Regions from separate parts of the Homo sapiens genome. Here regions 2 and 3 are each linked to region 1. The links are contacts of gene promoters, found by promoter capture Hi-C in blood cells and fetal thymus (Javierre and others, 2016). All regions are on one chromosome and are shown on one strand. Each heading gives the region's core, a stretch centred on a gene start or on the middle of the fragment in contact. The rest is flanking DNA. Distances are from core to core; before and after follow the strand shown.

Region 1 (2,964 bases), core at 187-2,686:
CTGGGGGCGAGAAACACATCTCACCCCAGAGCTGCTCCTCGCCCAGGACAGAACTCCTCTGCCCTTCACGACCAGGTCAAGGCCACATGGCTATGCCAAGCACATAGTCTGTAAAAATGGAAAATTTACCTCTAAACTGAAGTGAACCGAACTCTATTGACCTTCCCGTGTACTGAGGAGCTATAACTTCTCCCCAAAAATGTGAAAGTAAAATTGCAGTTTAAATCATGTAATTAGGAATACTGTAAACTAGTGTTTTGCACATATAAACTTTATCATACACTGGGAATTTGTACATACGTGCCCGGTATGGGATTTTTCTATTTTTATTTTTATTTTTTTGAGACAGAGTCTCGCTCTGTTGTCCAGGCTGGAGTGCAATGGCCTGATCTCTGCCTCACTGCAACCTCTGCCTCCCGGGTTCAAGCGATTCTCCTGCCTCAGCCTCCGAGTAGCTGGGACTACAGGCGTGCACCACCACGCCCGGCTAATTTTTGTATTTTTAGTAGAGATAGGGTTTCACCATGTTGGCCAGGCTACTCTCGAACTCCTGACCTCAGGTAATCCATCGGCCTCGGCCTCCCTAAGTGCTGGGATTACAGGCGTGAGCCACCGCGTCCGGACGGAATACCATTTTAATAGATCTTACATGGAATTCCAGTTAGGGCTTGTAAATGTCTCAGATGCTTGCTTCTGCTCATAGCACCCATCAAAGAATTGCAAGTGATGTTTTCCTTTTATTATTTCAAGAAGTGGAATGCAGAGTCCCTAATTAGGGACTTTCCAGATGAGCATGGACACAGGAAAACGCGTGCTTCCCCATTACCCACTTTTCAGCTGAAACAAGCTTTTGAAGCTCGTCCCGCTGTTGCTGAGGAGCGGCTCAACCTCGGGAGAGGCTGGGACTCTCTTTAGGGGTGGGGTCCCGGTCGGCGGGCAGGGCAGCCGCTTTTTCTTTGGGACTGAGTGGAGTTGGGAAGGATCCGTGGAGGCGCTGGGCTAAATCAGCAGACAAAACAAGGGGGAGGGCACAAGGCCGCGGCGGCGGCCAGCCTGGGGCTCGCATCCCGCTGGGCGACCCCTCCGGCCGGAGCCGGGGGGGTCACGCGGCCCCGGAACAAAGCGCCGCGGGAGGAGCTGCCCTGAGCCGACGGGCAAGCGCTAGCTTCTCGCGGGCCAGAGCGCCACGTGCCAGGATCCGTTGAATGCGCGGTGCACGGGCGCAGCAACGGTAGCCGAGTAGCCCCCGCACCTACTGCCGCCTTTGGAGACCCGCACAGCTACGCCCGCGGAGGCCGCCGCCGGCCGCGCCAACGCCTGTGCGCCTGCGCGCCCGCGAAAGCCCCGCCCCCCCAGGCTCCCAGCGCGCGGGGCCGCGCCTCCTCATGGCCGCCGCCGCAGTGTGTGGTATTTAGCGGGGGCGCGCGGCGGGCTCGAGGACGCGCGAAACGGCGGCGGCGGCGGCGGCCAGGGGGGAGCCGGGGCGGCCGTTGCGGGGCGCGCTCTCGAGAGGCGGCGGCGGCCCAGGGTGTCCCGTCGGTCTCGGCGCCGGGAAGAGGCGGTGGCGCTGCCCGCGGTGGCGGGGGTTGGCGACGGAGCGCGTTGGTGCCAGGACCGGGGTCCGAGGCGCGCTCTCCGCCCACAGGTAAGTGGGGCCCGGCCTGAGGGAGGAGCCGGCGGCGAGGGGCTCTCCGACAGGCGGGCGCCCAGGCCCGGTAATGGCGGAGGGCGGGAAGGGCGGCCCGGCCGGGGCGCGGGCAGTAGTCGGCGCGGCGGCGCCTTTGTCTCGGCCGGAGTCGGGCCGCCCGGTCGAGCGCCGCCCCCCGCCCCTCCCCTGCCTTCAGCCTTCGCAAGCCGGCTCGCCCCCGCCCCTGGAGCCCCGGGCCCGGCGGGGTGGCGGCGGGGGTCGGCCCCGCGCGGCCGGGCCGAGGGCGGGGGAAGGGCCTCGGCGGCGGCCCGGCCCCCGCGCGCCCGGGAGGCGGGCCCGGCCGGGGGTGGCGCCCGGCGCGCCCCGCGCCCTCGTGCCGGCCTTTGTTGTGGAGGGTCCCGGGGTGTGCGGCCAACATGGCGGAGGTCAGCTGAGTGCGGGCAGCTGCCGGGGCCCTGCCCTCCCTCCCCCTCCTCCCCGCGGCGCCCGGAGGCCCGGGCCGCACCGCGCCGCTCGGCGGGCCTCGGCCTCCGCTCTCTGCCCCCGACCCCCGGCTGGAGCCGTCCGGGACGGGGCTGCGCTCTTCCTGCCGCTTCGGCCGGAGGCTTCATTGTGCAGTGGGAAGAATGCAGCCTCCTCCCTTGTTTATGTCGTTAGAGAGGAGAGCGCGTGAACGGCGTGCCGGGGAAGCTCTAGCTTATTATAAACCTGGCATTTCCTAGGGTTCATTTGCCGGGTAGTTTGGGGTCCTTTCTTAACTCTCCCAAATTTATAACTTAAAGTGAATAACCTGGGCCACTCCGATGCGTAGGTTCGTTTTCGCTGTCTGCCCGTTCCTGGAAAGATACATAATTTGTTTGCTCGGACATTCAGAAAAGTCCAGCTTGGGTGTTCGGAAAATCAGATTGTGTGTACTTCTTTTGCCAAAGTCATAGAGGCCATAAACAAACAGAGAGACATGGATACTGGATATGGGACGGTGTTCTGACTGTCCCTTCCTAGCAGTTGAGCATTTACCTTTGCTTATAGCGGCTGTCAAGGGTAAATTGTTAACTCTTCAGCAGTTGGATGTTGAGAGCACGGGCTGTGAAGTCCGACTGTCTGCTTTGGGTCAAATCCTGCTCCACTGGTTTGTGACCTTGGGCAGATACTTCTCTGTGCTTCGCTTTCCTTATCTGCAAAATGGGTGTAACGACAGTATCTACCTCAAGCCCTGTTGAGAATTGATGAGATGACAATAGGTGGACTGAAAGCAGTGGCAGCCCCATACTAAGTTCTCAACAAATGCTTACTGTTAAGACTGTAGTTTAATAGCT
Region 2 (2,964 bases), core at 125-2,624, 150 kb before region 1:
ATCCCACACCCCCACCAGCCAGGTCTTATCTCCAAGTGCTAAGCCGTCATCCTCCAGGTTCTGAACGCACTCCTTTATCCCTGTGGTCCAATGATGAGGGTGCTTAGGTTAGGGCCTACATTTCTTTCAGTGCCTCAGCAGGGCCATGGGAAGTCCAGCTGTTCTAGAGAGGGCATTGTTCCTTGAACAAGGCAGGCACTTGGGAGAGTCCCTCGGGTGCCGTCACCAGAGAGAGCACCCGGAGGAAGTGAGCACAGCCACTGCCTGCCTGCAGGGTGCTGAGAAAGCTGAGGCCGGCAACCAGTGTCGTGCCCTCACCACCCATGTGCCCGGCAAGCTTCTGTCTCCTTTAATCCTCACCTCACTCCTAAAGTGCTGCTGTTATTATCTCCATTTTGCAGAGGAGGAAACTGAGGTACAGAGATGCTCAGGAACTTCCATTTCTTCAAGCTAAGATGTCCAGGATTTAGGATTTGAATTCCAATGGGCCATCCCACCTCCCTGAAAGGCAAAGCTGCACCAGAGGTGACTCAGCAGCTGGTATGGCACCTAAGATACCTCCACCCTTCAAGGAAAAGAATTGAGGGCCCATGACAGACCTGGGTCAAGGCTGTCAGTCTTCAGGGCACAGGGAGGCTGCGGAAGGAAGCTGCCTCCCCACTTCCTGCTTGGTGGGCCCGTATCCAGCCCTGTTCCTGCGAGAGGATGCCAAGAGCATATTTTTTTAAAGAAGTTGACCAGTTCTGCAGAAGCTGTGTCAGGAGTGAGCCCATGTATGCATCAGAGCCACCTTGCACTTCATTTCGGGAAACACAGATGAGTTGATGTTGATTGGAAACTGTACGTGGCCTTTTTCCCGGCTCAGGTTCCAATCCCCTACACACCGAGGATGCCAGGGCTGGGGGCATTCACTGGGGAAATGGACTGGGCAGGCAGGGATTTGCCCAGAAACAGAGCAGAAGTACCCACAGCCAGTGCTGGAGCCAAAAGCCCAGAGGCTTAGGGCTTCTTAAACCAGCCCCCTTTCACCCCCTCCTGCCTGGTGGCTTCAGCTCCCAGAGTCACAGGACTCCAAACCGCAGACTCCAGCCTTTGGGGCTTTCCTTCCCCAGCCCCGAGTCCCCAGGGAGCCCTGCTTGGCCCCACAGCCTGAAACCCAGTCTGGGGTCAGGCCTGGGCAGGCCCTGTCCTCCCCTCCTCCCTGCTTCTAGCGAGAAGAGGAGGCGGCGGCCTCCCCCAAAAAGAATGCGCTTGTCTGCCCGCCTGTCTGGCTCCTGGATCAGTCTAAAGTTTCAGCCACCAAAACAGGCAGCAGGAAGAAGAGGGCCTCCCGCAGCCTGCCCCTAGCAGCTGCGCACGTGGGCTTGCTCAGGGGACTTCCCCCAAACCAGGGTGTCTCTCAATGCCAGCAGGACCCTCTCCCCTTGCCAGCCCCTCAGGATCCCTGGCATGTCACACCTCCACTCTGAGAAGGGCTGGGAACCCTTACTTCTTCCCACTGTGTGGCTAAGGGACATGAGGCCCAGCCGGTGAGGGGTGGGGCCCAAACCCCTCATCCCCTCCGGATGCTGCACCTTCCCAGCCCCTCCAGGGTTCCTCCATCCCTGGTCTTGAGCAGCCACTTCATGCAGGGGACAGTGCCAGGGAAGGGAGAGAACAACCAGAATGGCCCTTCTTCTGAAGGCCTCATGCCCAGCCAGCCCGTGGAGTGAGGGCATCACCTGCTCCTGCACTTATTCTCCGTGACCTTGAGAAAGTTACGCAGCCTCTCAAGGCCTCGGGCCCTCATCTGTCAAGGGCTAGTGCTGCTGCCCTCAGAGCTGGTGGTCTGTGACCCTGGCTGTGCACTGGGATCCCCAGGGGCAGCGCTGCCCAGGCCACACCCCAGACCCTAGAGATCAGAATCTGACATCCACGTTTTCTGGTAATCCCAAGTGACCCGGCGTGCCCTCATGGTTGAGAAACACCTCCCTACTAAAGAGTAGTTGCAATGGTTGCAACCAGGACTGAATCCTAAGAAACGGGCCTGGCTCCTGGGAGAGTCCTTCCCATCCTGAGTCCCACGGTGAGGAAGGCACCTTTGCACCCAGGCCGGTGAGTGTTCCCTAGAATACATGTGGCTCCAGCGAGGGTCCCTCAGGGCCTCATCTGACCTTTGGTGGTTTTCAAATCCCAGGCCCTACAGAGGCAGGACACAGAGTGGGGCACGGAGCAGGGGAGGCCAGGACCCCTCCGGCTCCCTCCTGGTTCCTGAGTACCAGTGGGGCTGGCATTGGCATCAGGTGTTTCTCCCGACCTGGCCCCACTGTGTGTCCTCACCTCCTGACAGAAGCTGGCTTAATTACATGTGGGGACAATTTCTGCACAAGAGGGAGGAGAGCAGCTGGTACCCATTGAGCTTGCAAGCTTCTTTCCACAAAGCAGCGCCTTCATCCTCCCCACTGTGCACTCCCTGCAAACCCTGGTCACCATCCCACAGGCACCAGGGACCTGAGAGCCCAGCAGGGCCAGCCACACCGCTGAGAAGGGAAGGAGGAGGCCACCCAGTGGAGAGCCCTCGTTTCACAGTTGCAGTGTGGACAGAGGCCCAGCTAGCTTGGGTTGCCCATGGCCATCAGCTGTTCGGTAAGGCAGGACTGAGTCCAGGTCTTATTCCCACATTTGTTCTTTCCACTGCCTCCCCTGAAGATGAGTTTCTTTTCCCTGTGAGCCTTTTCTAGTTGTCTGACACTCCCAGCTTTAATAAACCCCCACCTCCCCAGCCCAGGAACTCTGGCTTTGAGGACCACCCAGAGCATCTCACACCCGTAGAGGTGGGGACGGTGGAGCGGGACTGCCAGTCACCTGGTCCCTCCCTCCGAGAACTCTGGCTCTAAGAAGGCACGAGGCATAGCTGGAAGAGGCCCTCGTCCACCATTTGGCCTCTGCGGAGGTGGCGTCCATCCCAGACCTTCGAGCACTCCA
Region 3 (2,964 bases), core at 154-2,653, 130 kb before region 1:
ATGAATTTTATCGGTCTTGCAAAGACCCACCCTTTAGTTTCATTGATTTTCTCTATTGATTTCCTATTTTCAATTTCATTGAGTTTTACTTTGGTTTTTATTATTTCTTTTCTTCTGTTTTGTGTAAATTTAATTTGTGTAAATTAATTACACAAATTACACAAATTTGTGTAAATTAATTACACAAATAATTGTGTAAAATTGCTTTGTGTAAATTAATTTTTTTTTCTAGTTTCCTAAAGGGGAAGCTTAAATTGTTGATTTTAGATCTCTATTTTTTTGATACATACATTCAATATTATCAATTTCTCTCTAAACACTACTTTCGCTACATCACACAATTTTGATTAGTTGTGTTCTCATTTTCACTTAGTTCAAAATATTTTTAAATTTTTCTTGAGAGTTCTTTTTTGACCTTTGTGTTATGCAGAAGTGTGTTGTTTAATCCCCAAGTATTTGGGAATTTTCTAGCTATCTTTCTCTTACTGATTTCTAGTTTAATTCCACTGTGGTCTGAGGCCAGACATTGGATGGTTTCTATTCTTTTAAATGTATTAAGATTTTTTTTGTTTTTATTTATTTATTTTTTTTGAGACGGAGTCTTGCTCTGTCGCCCAGGCTGGAGTGCAGTGGTGCAATCTCGGCTCACCACAACCTCTGCCTCCCGGGTTCAAGCGATTCTCCTGCCTCACCCTCCGAAGTAGCTGGGACTACAGGTGCGTGCCACCATGCATGGCTAATTTTTGCATTTTTAGGAGAGACAGGGTTTCATTATGTTGGCCAAGCTGGTCTCAAATTCCTGACCTGGTGATCTGCCTGCCTCAGCCTCCCAAAGTGCTGGGATTACAGGTGTGAGCCATCACACCTGGCCTTAAGGTGTTTTTTATGGCCCTGAATGTGGTCTGTCTTGGTGAATATTCCATATGAGCTTCAGAAGAATGTGTAATCTGCTGTCACTGGGTGAGGCCATTTATAGATCAATATACCAGCTGTTAATGGTACTATTGAGTTCTGCCTGCTGGATCTGTCCATTTCTGTTAAAGGGGTGTTAAAATCTCCAACTTATTTATTTATTTATTTATTTATTTATTTAGACGGAGTCTTGCTCTGTCACCCAGGCTGGAGTGCAGTGGTGCGATCTTGGCTCACTGCAACCTCTGCGTCCCGGGTTCAAGTGATTCTCCTGCCTCAGCCTCCTGAGTAGCTGGGATTACAGGCGCGTACAACAACACCCAGCTAATTTTTGTACTTTTAGTAGAGACAGGGTTTCACCATGTTGGCCAGGCTGGTCTCAAACTCCTGACCTCAGGTGAACTGCCCTCCTCAGCCTCTCAAAGTGCTGGGATTACAGGTGTGAGCCACTGCACCCAGCCAAAATCTCCAACTTTAAAAGTGGGTTCGTTATTTCTTCTCGAAGGTCTGTCAGTTTTTGCCTCTCAGGCACCGATGCTCTGTTGTTAGGCGTGTACATATTAAGTATTGTTGCCTTGGAGAACTGAGCCCTCCCTCATTCTGTAATGCCTTCTTTATTCCTGATCACTTTCCTTGCTGAAGTCAGCTCTGTCTGAAATTAATAGAACTACTGCTTTCTTATGATGTGCATTGGCATGGAATATCTTTCTTTATCTCTTTACTTTTAAAGTATATGTGTTTTTATATTTAAAGTGGGTTTTTTGTAGACAACTTACAGTTGAATCTTATTTTTTGATATACTGTGACAATCTCTGTCCTTAATTGGTACATTTAGAGCACTGGCTTTCAAAGTAATTGTTGATGTAATTGGATTATTATCCACCATATTTTAAAATGTGCTGCCCTTATTCTTTGTTCCTATTTTTGTCTTTTACTCTGTCTCTGCCTTTTGTGGTTTTAATTAGGCATTTTGTAGGATACCATTTTCTCTCCTTGCTTAGTATATTACTTCTACTTCAAAACTTGGTTGCCTTAAAACTTGCAATATACATTTTTAAAAATTTTTCTTTATAAACAAACACACACAAATCAATATACTTTTGAAACTAAATCAAACCTGATTTCAAATAACACTACACCTTTTAAAGGGTAGTGCAAGTGCCTTATAATAACAAAATATTTCTAATTTCTCTCTCCTGTTCCTTGTTTCATTGTTATCATTCATTTCATCTATACATAAGCATCCATAAGCATGTATGTTTAAGCATATATAATTTTTTTTGTTTTTTGATACGGAATCTCACTCTGTCACCCAGGCTGGAGTGCAGTGGTGCCATCTTGGCTCACTGCAACGTCCACCTCCTGGTTCAATCGATTCAAGCAGCCTCCCAAGTAGCTGGGATTACAAGCGCCTGCCACCACGCTTCCTGGCTAACTTTTGTGTTTTTAGTAGAGACGGAGTTTCACCAAGTTGGCCAGGATGGTCTCAACCTCCTCACCTCAGGTGATCTGCCAGCCTCAGCCTCCCAAAGTGCTGAGATTACAGGTGTGAGTCACCGCACCCCGCCAGCATACATAATTGAATACATTGTTCCTCTTTTGAGCAAACTGTTATGTGATAGATGGATTAAAAACATAAAAGCTTTTATTTTGCCTCTACTTATTCATTTCCTGATGCTCTTTCTTTCTTTATGTAGATCTGTGTTTCTGACCTATACTATTTTCATTCTCTCTGAAGAACTTATTTTAACATTTTTTGCAAGACAAACCTTTTGGCAACAAATTCCCTCTATTTATTTATATATTTATTTACTCATTTATTTATTTGAGACAGGGTGTCTCACTCTGTTACCCAGGCTGGACTGCAGTGGCGCGATCTCAGCTCACTGCAACCTCCGCCTCCTGGGTTCAAGCAATTCTCTGGCCTCAGCAACCCCCAACCCAAGTAGCTGGGATTACAGGCATGCGTCACCATTGTGTTTTTAGTAGAGCTGGGGTTTCACCATGTTGGCCAGGCTGGTCTCAATTTTTGTTTGTCTGAGAAAGTTTTTA

Evidence for each region. The method cuts DNA at HindIII sites, captures the fragments that hold promoters and counts their contacts. A CHiCAGO score of 5 or more calls a contact.
Region 2: a contact is called between a fragment that was not itself captured here and the fragment with the promoter of SIAH1 in region 1, in 10 of 17 cell types (M0 macrophages, M1 macrophages, M2 macrophages and 7 more). The highest score is 27.0, in M0 macrophages.
Region 3: a contact is called between a fragment that was not itself captured here and the fragment with the promoter of SIAH1 in region 1, in 3 of 17 cell types (M2 macrophages, M0 macrophages and neutrophils). The highest score is 6.5, in M2 macrophages.

What each region holds. Positions count from the first base shown.
Region 1 is chr16:48,383,885-48,386,848 of GRCh38, reverse strand. SIAH1 (siah E3 ubiquitin protein ligase 1) reads left to right here and starts at 1,436. Exons shown (of 2, transcript NM_003031.4): 1 at 1,436-1,645. RefSeq lists silencers at 1,008-1,827, 1,928-1,997, 2,088-2,357. The HindIII fragment of the contact is 2,947 bases long and covers 850-2,964 here.
Region 2 is chr16:48,534,695-48,537,658 of GRCh38, reverse strand. No RefSeq gene overlaps it. Among named protein-coding and RNA genes, the nearest start is that of N4BP1, 74 kb to the left of the region's middle. RefSeq lists enhancers at 25-94, 855-924, 955-1,324. The HindIII fragment of the contact is 2,069 bases long and covers 340-2,408 here.
Region 3 is chr16:48,514,416-48,517,379 of GRCh38, reverse strand. No RefSeq gene overlaps it. Among named protein-coding and RNA genes, the nearest start is that of N4BP1, 94 kb to the left of the region's middle. The HindIII fragment of the contact is 2,306 bases long and covers 251-2,556 here.